Linked DNA regions of Homo sapiens: regions 1 and 3 are each linked to region 2. The links are contacts of gene promoters, found by promoter capture Hi-C in human tissues and cell types (Jung and others, 2019). All regions are on one chromosome and are shown on one strand. The core of a region is centred on a gene start or on the middle of the fragment in contact, and the rest is flanking DNA. Distances in the headings are between cores, read along the strand shown.

Evidence for each region. Contacts are between HindIII fragments. The study calls those that stand out against the background at their distance.
Region 1: the fragment with the promoter of USP20 here is called in contact with the fragment with the promoter of ZER1 in region 2 in 1 of the 25 tissues and cell types used here (dorsolateral prefrontal cortex).
Region 3: a contact is called between a fragment that was not itself captured here and the fragment with the promoter of ZER1 in region 2, in 1 of the 25 tissues and cell types used here (dorsolateral prefrontal cortex).

Annotation. Positions count from the first base shown.
Region 1 is chr9:129,834,202-129,837,040 of GRCh38, forward strand. USP20 (ubiquitin specific peptidase 20) reads left to right here and starts at 1,257. Exons shown (of 26, transcript NM_001110303.4): 1 at 1,257-1,298. It overlaps C9orf78 (chromosome 9 open reading frame 78), which reads right to left and starts at 1,074. Exons shown (of 9, transcript NM_016520.3): 1 at 938-1,074; 2 at 506-565. The coding sequence starts at 1,020. RefSeq lists silencers at 1,006-1,355, 1,386-1,535 and an enhancer at 1,507-2,007. The HindIII fragment of the contact is 7,728 bases long and covers 1-1,438 here.
Region 2 is chr9:128,770,533-128,773,232 of GRCh38, forward strand. It overlaps ZER1 (zyg-11 related cell cycle regulator), which reads right to left and starts at 1,395. Exons shown (of 16, transcript NM_006336.4): 1 at 1,049-1,395. LOC124902282 (a long non-coding RNA gene) reads left to right here and starts at 802. Exons shown (of 2, transcript XR_007061804.1): 1 at 802-1,016. RefSeq lists enhancers at 982-1,031, 1,760-2,486 and a silencer at 1,222-1,691. The HindIII fragment of the contact is 13,726 bases long and covers 1-2,700 here.
Region 3 is chr9:129,774,155-129,776,933 of GRCh38, forward strand. No RefSeq gene overlaps it. Among named protein-coding and RNA genes, the nearest start is that of PTGES, 23 kb to the left of the region's middle. RefSeq lists an enhancer at 912-1,478. The HindIII fragment of the contact is 4,926 bases long and covers 1-2,779 here.

The DNA of each region.
Region 1 (2,839 bases), core at 7-2,506, 1.1 Mb after region 2:
ATAATGAGTTGAAAAGAACAGGGAATAAAAGTACATAGAAAGTTGTTCACAATCTGAGAGAGAGAGACGAAAAAAAACAGATTGGAAAGAGTATTCAATATTAATACCAGTGCATTCTTGGGTGGCTCTGCAAGGAAAAAAAATGTTAACACTGATCATTTCCGGATGGGAGAATTATGGGTGCTTTTTATCGTCTTGACTATACTTTTCTAAATTATACAAACTCTTAACGATCGATATGCATTTCACAATTAATTGGTTTTAATAAAAAACGCGAGTTAGTGATCTGTTTCTGTATCTCTGGAGCACACCCCGAGACGACACAGCTCAGGGCATGTCCTGGTTAAACATTTGCAAAGAACGCTGTTCTCCAAGTTGGGCAGTGGAAGGTGTACAGTGTGTCAAGAGAAAAATCTACGTCTGAGGAGATATTTGTGACAGCGACCCGGACGCGGATGTGTCTGTCGTCCCCGCCGCCTCCTCCTCCTCCCCGCGTGGTACCCACCTCACCCCGTTGGGCCTCTTCCTCAAGTTCTGTACCTCTCTGGTCTCTTCCAGTTTTAATCTTTAAAAAGAAGAAGAAGCAGCAATGCATAAGCTGAGTGATTCCCCGCGGAATCCAAAGCTAACAGAGCCAATAAGGCACCTTCGAGGGCATCCCAGCCCAGCTACTGAGCCACCAGCACAGTGGTCCAGAGGACGACCTTGTGCCTAGACCCACCGGGAGTCAGAGCCACTGCGCATCCCGGAGGCATCTCTCTCAACCGTTCGAGCTTGGGGCGGTGGCCTCACCCCTTGAGCCTCAATTTCTGCGTCCGCAGAAGGAACCACCACCCGAGCTCACAGTTAACAATGTCAGCGAAGCGCCGAGCCGGTGGTGAGTCCCCCAAACAAGTCTATCTTTACCAAGCCTATGGGAGCCCCGCCCCAAACGCACCGAACCTCCTCTGAGTCCTGCTCATCTTCCTCTGACTCCGAGTCGCCCCGGCGGCGACGGAAAATCTTCCGGACGACCGGCATGGTGACAACGGCCGAGTTGTACAGCCGCCGCGCCTCTGCGCAGCGGCCCAGGCTGCTTCCGGCGCGCGGCAGAGCGGTCAGAGCGCCTGCCCCGTCTGGCCCCGCCCCCGGCACGCACAGTCCGCGTGGCCACGCCCCCTCTCCTGGCGTCAGCCTCTTCCGATTGGACGGCAGAGGGAAGGAGGTGGGGCGTCGCCAGACGGCCCCACAACCCTGCGCGTCGCCTCAGAGGGGGCGCGCTTGACTGACAGGCGGCGGCGGCGCAGTTGCGAGTGCAGGTGAGTTCCGGGCCGCCACCGGCTGCTTCTGTGGGCCGGGCCTCTGAGCATTGGCGACCCCAGCCCGGCTCCGGGCTGACAGGGCCTGGCTTCGCCAGGTACGCCAGACGCAGCGGCCCGGTGAGCGGAGCCCGGGACCCCCCCGGCCGCCGCCGCCCCTCTCCCCTCCTCCGGTCGGCGCCCAGGGGGGCCTCTGGGCCCCAGCACCACCCCACTCTGAGCTCCCTGGGGGCTCGTGGCTTCTCCAGAACCGGGGCCGCCCCCCTCTCATTTCTGCCGGGGCCTGACCTAGCGTTGAAAGCATCCGCGTGGCGTCTCGCGTCTCGGGCGCTGACTTTTCTTTCCTCGGGCTCTGAGCCCTGACGTGCGTTTTTTTCTTTCGGAACAAAAGATGACCACTTCTCTGCGGTGCTGACTTAGAGTCCCAGCGCCGACTGCCTCACAAATAATGGCCCCCAGCTTCTCCGCGAGGAGAGGCGCGTCTGATGTTTTGAAGCCACGCAAGAGGGTTTGAGCCGGGGGACTCCTCCTCGGTGCTTGCCGGCCACCCCCCTGGACCTTCACGGGTCTGGTTTTCCTCCTTCGGCAGGTCTGTCGCTCTACCCTCTGCCCCTTCCACCCCGAAGATGCTGTGAGGATAAAGTTTATTTGAAAAACTGGTATCAGCAAACGCTTAGGAAATACCTAAATGCATAAATAATGGCTTCTAGGACTTTTAAGAACCCCTTAAGTAACAGTAGTTTTCCTTTTCTCAGTGTCATCCCTTACTTTGAGAACTACCTCTTATTAAGCAGTTACTATGTGGCAGGCCCTGGGCAAAGCATCATCTCATTGAATTCTCCCAGCAATCCTTTGAGGTAGATTGTTTTTCGTTTTACAAATGAGAATGCGGAGTCTCCGAGGGGCAGTGCACGCCTCAAGTTACCCAGCTAGGAGGTGGAACAGGAATTGGTTGCAGGTCAGTCTCTGCCGCACGGTTTGCACAGGGCCTGGCACGGTAGGAGTGCAGTAGATGTTTGCTGCTGCTGCAGCTGCTGTTACATCTCATTGGCTAGGGGGAGGGGCCGATGGGGGCTGTCTGGGGTTCCCCTTTCTGGAAGACCATTCCGAAGCAGGGCAGCATTTCTAGAATGCCTTACGTTTTCTCTGGAACAGTCTCCACTGAGATTGTTCTTCTCTTCCTTGGGCTGGAAAAAATAGTAGACTCGGGACTTCTTGCACCAGCGTTTTATCTTTGGTCAAAAGCCATATATTAAAGTCTCAAAGTCTTGCCCTCTGCAGACTGGTTCAGCCAAACCCAGATGCACGTGCACTCACTGGATACGGAGTCCCTGTCAGATGATGGAGAGGCTCCTTGGGAATTGCTGCAGGAGTCCAGGGGGTCAACGTCTGCAGCTCTCACGCTCTCAGAGGTGGCTCTGAATCTGCCCATCAAGCAGCCCATCCACCAGGGGGTACTGGACACTACTAAGGAAAGGGCAAGAAGGCCAGGGGCATTTCTGGACCCTCCTCCTCAGCTGAAGTCCCAGGGTACAGATGAG
Region 2 (2,700 bases), core at 145-2,644:
GGTCACCTTACTAGAGACCTTCCCTGAACACCCTCTATAAAATGACAACTCCCAACTCCTTCCCCATGGTCCTTCCTTCTCTATTTTTCTCCAAACCACTTATTACCTCCTTACATATCATGTTTATTATTTGCTGAATGAACAAATGAACCAAAGTAGCGAGGCCCTTCACCCCTGGCCACCACTTTCTGCTCTAAGTATAGCCTCCCGTGACCCTTTTCAAGGCTATGCTTTTATGCTCATCCTAACCAGTTTGAAGTCTGAAGAGAAACATTCTGTGAAAGATCATATATGGAAGGATTTTCCCAAGACATCAGACATTCCATTCCCCTCCCCCTTAAAAATCAAATGCACTAGCTGAGCGCGGTGGCTCATGCCTGTATTTCCAGCACTTTTGGAGGCTGGAGCGGGCGGATCACTTGAGCCCAGGAGTTCGAGACCAGCTTGGGTAACATAGTGAGACCCCATCTCTATTTAAAGAAAAACAAAACAAAACAAAACGAATGGACTGACAAACACAGGCAAAGACTGGAAATCTTGGGCTCTTTCGGTCAAAGAGCAGCCAAGACAAGTTCCACCCAGAGAGCTATAGTGGCCAGCACAGTCAGTTTCACTATCAACTCACCTGTCGGGCTCCCTTGGCCCTCCGGTTGCAACCTCACCCTGTTGGATTTCCCTATACTTTGTGTCATCCCTTTTGGGAGCTGATCCAGAATCCAAGTCGTCCTTGAGCTTCTAAGCACTTCTCTGGGGGAACTTAAGCTCATCCAACAGGTAGGAGGGGCAGAGGGTGGCCCTTTCAGCCCTACACCGATCCCCCATCTTGTAGGGGCAAACGACAGAGCGTCATTTTCTTTCTGGAGGAAGGGAGCTCAGTTTTAAAGACACGATTCTCAGACCTGGCGGCAGGGATAGAGAAAGGAACCCTCCCACCACTGGCGGAGATGGACCTCAGAGAGTGGTTGCAGCGGCGATGCTTAGGCCCCGTAGGCAGGAGGCGAAGGAGGAGGACGCAGGTACGTCCCTTGGCCCGGGGTCCGGGACCTACCCTGGACGGGGCTGCCCTCAGCGTCGGGAAGCGGACGTGATGCTTCGCAGGCGAGGAGGAGCAGAGAATGCAGCCCGGGAGAATCCGGGGCCAGAGCACCTCAGGAGGTTGGGGATCTCGTCAGGCTAGAGCCGGGGTCCAGGGGAGACGGGGGTCGGCGGGGCGGAGCTTGGGATCCCGGGGACGGGAGCTCCGGGAGGGAGGGGGTCGCGACGGGGACCCCGTGGCGGTTACCTTGCCCTTAGGGCTGCCGGCGGGGCTGAGGCTCCTGGGCCCGGCCCCTCCCCCGATCCGGCTCCTACGGCTCGGAGCCTGCAGCCGCCGCCGCCTCCGCTGTCAACAAACCCGGGGCGCGTCACTTCCGGGGCCGCCCCTTAGCAACAGCGATCGGGTTCCCCCGACCCGTCCCGCGGCTAACGCGGGCGGCGGCGGCAGAAGGTTCCGGGGACCGGCGGGCGGCTCCTTTCCCCGGGCCCGGCACGTTACGCCGGTGGAGGAAGCCGCGGGATGCCCCCCCCAGGCCACCCGAGAGAACGCGTCATTCAGGGCTCTCCCTGGCCTCCGAGGGGCCTGTTCGTGGGACCCTAGGATCGGTGCCCGCCCTGGCGCTGCGGTTCACCTGAGCCCAACACTGCTGAATAGCAGGACTGACTCTGGGCGCCAGCCCCCTCCATCCAGCGCCCTGTTGAACATGTCTTGCGTTCTCCACGGGTGGCTCACACTCGCGTGTCAACCCGCAGTCATCACCGTCCCCCAAAAGGTGCTCCTAACCTCCATCTAGGGCATGCGCCACCAGGCAACCGAGCTTCCAAATGGGAAATTGGGCGGCGACCTCGGCCCCTACATTTTCCTGGGCCCCTCGTCCAGTCTCCAAGTCCTAAGGATCCTGTCAAACCAGTTCCTTCTGGCCGAGCGCAGTGGCTCACGCCTGTAATCCCAGCACTTTGGGAGGCCGAGGCACGCGGATCACCTGAGGTCAAGAGTTCGAGACCAGCCTGGCCAACATGGTGAAACGCCGTCTTTACTAAAAATACAAAAATTAGCCGAGCGTGGTGGTGCGCGCCTCTAATCCCAGCTACTCAGGAGACTGAAGCAGGAGAATCGTTTGAACCCAGGAGGCAGAGCTTGCAGTAAGCTGAGATCGCACCACTGCACTCCAGCCTGGGCGACAGAGGAAGACTCCATCTCAAAACACCATCATTTCTTCTCTGGATTTCTCTTTTTTTTTTTTTTTTTTGAGAGACGGAGTTTCTCTCTCTTGTTGCCCAGGCTGGCGGGCAATGGCCCTCAGCTCACTGCAGACTCCCCGGGTTCAAGCAATTCTCCTGCCTCAGCCTCCAAGTAGCTGGGATTACAGGCGCCTACTATCACGTCTGGCTAATTTTTGTATTTTTAGTAGAGATGGGGTTTCGCCATGTTGGGCAGGCTGGTCTCAAACTCTTGACCTCAGGTGATGCGCCCACCTCAGCCTCCCAAAGTGCTGGGATTACAGGCGTGAGCTACCACACCCTAGCTAGATGCTCCTTTCTTGAGGAACCCTTTCTTGACAGGTGCCTCAGTTCCATTCCAAGAACTAATTTTGTGGATTTCTTTTTTCTTGCATAGCACCTTTTAATCTTTGACCAGCTACAACTATGTTCGTACAGTCTTGA
Region 3 (2,779 bases), core at 212-2,711, 1.0 Mb after region 2:
AAAAAGTTAAAAAAAAAAAAAATAGCCAGGCATGGTGGTGTATGTCTGTGGTCCTAGCTACTTAGGAGGCTGAGGAGGGAGGATCACTTGAGGCTGGGAGGTCGAGGCTGCAGTGAGCCATGATCATGCCACTGCACTCCAACCTAGGTGCAAGAAAGAAAGAAAAGAAAGAGAGAAAGAGAGACAGAGAGAAAGAAAGAAAGGAAGAAAAAAGAAAGAAAGAAAGAAACAAAGAAACAAACAAACAAAGAAGGAAGGAAAGAAACAAAGAAAGAAAGAAACCAACAAAGAAAGAAAGAAAGAAGGAAGGAAGGAAAGAAAGAAAGAAACAAAGAAAGAAAGAAAGAAAGAAAGAAAGAAAGAAAGAAAGAAAGGAAGGAAGGAAGGGGAGAGAGAAGGAAGGGAGGGAGGGAGGGAGGGAGGGAGGAAGGAAGAAAGGGAGGGAAGGATGGGTTTGTCTCTCAACGTAAGAACCAAAATGAAGACATGTGTGTCTACCAGGTGAGGAGAGAAGTACGGAGAAGAAAGGGGAGGGTTGGTGGGTCCCCCAGGAGCCTGGTTGGCTGGTTGGAAACCAGAGGGTGTACTGGACAAGGCCCAGAATGCGGACCTGCCTGGGCCCCAATAAGGGGTCCCTCCCCATCCACAGGTAGACGCATCGCCCCGAGGTAGACACATGTCCCCTAGGGAAGAAGCCTTCGGCTACTCCTCACGTGCAAGTCACATGCTCCTCTCCCTGCTGGCACCACCATGGCCACAGCTGATGGGCAGGGGTGAGCACCTGGCTGCAAGCAGCCAATGGCGAGGCCAGCCAGCAGCCAATGAAATCAACAGCCCGATGTGGGCCTGGGCTGAGACCCACCCCCCAGAGGAGGCTGGGCTCGTGGCCAAGGACTCGGCTGCCAGCAGCAGGAGCGGCCACAAGAATGTGTACCCCTGGGGATGACAAGAAGCCCCTACAGTGAAATCCACTTCGGCTCTTCACGGGCCCTGGGGTCTTCACCTGGGTCCTGTGCCCACGAGGTCTTGGGCCCCAGCATCCTCACAGTAAACCCCTTTATCCCGGGGTCCTCAGTGCACGTCTGGCCCAGCAACGGCAATGAAACCAACAAACTGCCACACACTAGAGCTGGGTCCTGCGGCTCTGCCACCTGCTCTGTCAAACGCTGGGGTCCCCAGAAGCCACGGCCCCTGCCAAAGGTCATTTTGGGTCTCATTTGTCATCTGGGTACTTAGGGTAAAACGATATTTTCTGTGCAAGCCCCTCATTGCTTCCCTGTCTCTCCCATCCCCTAACTCCACCACCATGAAGGCCTCCCTGCTCTCACCCACTCCAAGAGCTGGATTTTCCCTGGCACAGAGAGCATAGCACCGACCCAGACAAGCCCTTTGCCACATGCGTCCTGCCAGGCATGATTCTGGCCACAAGGATGCATCAACTGCCACTGGAGCTGTGGGTGTGTTGTCACTGTGAAGCACATTGCAGCAGCAGCTGAGAGGAGAGACCAACCAGCACCCTGGGGAGGGGGCTGCATGCAGAGGTTGGGAAGTCACACTTTGGCTTCAAGCCAAGCAGAAGATCTGGCCCAAGAAAACAGGCTCATACCTCCTGGACAGGGTGGCCAAGAGACAGAGCTTCAGCTCAGGCTGGGACGCCAGTTGGGCAATAAAATTAATGACAATAATTATTATTATATAACAATGTTGATGACATTACTGGCCAACTTTACCTGCCAGACACTATGCTTGGTGCTTTATGTAGATCAGTTCATTGCCCTCATGTAGCAATCCTAGGAGGTGGGTCTATTATTATCTCTATTTTATTTTATTTTATTTTATATTTTTTAGAGGCAGAGTCTTGCTCTGTCACCCAGGCTGGAGTGCAATGGTGTGATCTTGGCTCACTGCAACCTCTGGCTCCCAGTCTCAAGCAATTCTCCTGCCTCAGCCTCCCGAGTAGCTGGGACTTCAGGTGCGTGCCACCACACCTGGCTAATTTTTTTTGTATTTTTTAGTAGAGACAGGGTTTCACCATGTTTGCCAGGCTGGTTTTGAACTCCTGACCTCAGGTGATCCACCTGCCTTGGCCTCCCAAAGTGCTGGGATTACAGGCATGAGCTACCTCGCCCGGCCTAATATCCCCATTTTAGAGATGAGAAAATTGAGGTTCAGAGGAGTGACATGACTTAACCAATGTCTGTGCTAAACTACAGTAAGATAGATAGATAGATAGATAGATAGATAGATAGATAGATAGATAGATAGATAGATAGATACCTATGTCTAACTACCTACCTACCTACCTATTGACCTATCTACCTACCTACCAACCTGCCTATCTCTCTATCTATGTGATATATATGAAAAAGACTCTTCAGAGAACTGACTCTGCTGATGCCCAGAATAGGGTGCGGGAGACTCATCAAGCTGATCTCCCATGCTGGGCCCAGCTGGATGTTCTGACTTTACCCAGAGTATCCAGATTTCAATTAACTATCTCGGAACCACAGTAAAGGAGCGTGTGCGCTATAGTTGATTGCTCAGCCCGAGCACAGGGCTGGGTAATCTTACTCCCAGAGGGTTCTGAGGTTGGAGCCTGGAATGGACCAGCTCTCTCCCTTGCCATTCAGCCCCACCCCCACCCCTGGAGCCAGGGACTCAAGCAGCCCAGCTTGACAGTCCTGGGAGGCCTGACCCCCGGCTGGGATCTCGTCATCAGCAATGCACCCAGGCTCTGGGGACAGCATGGTCTAGGGCCTCTGAATTGGCCATTATCCTA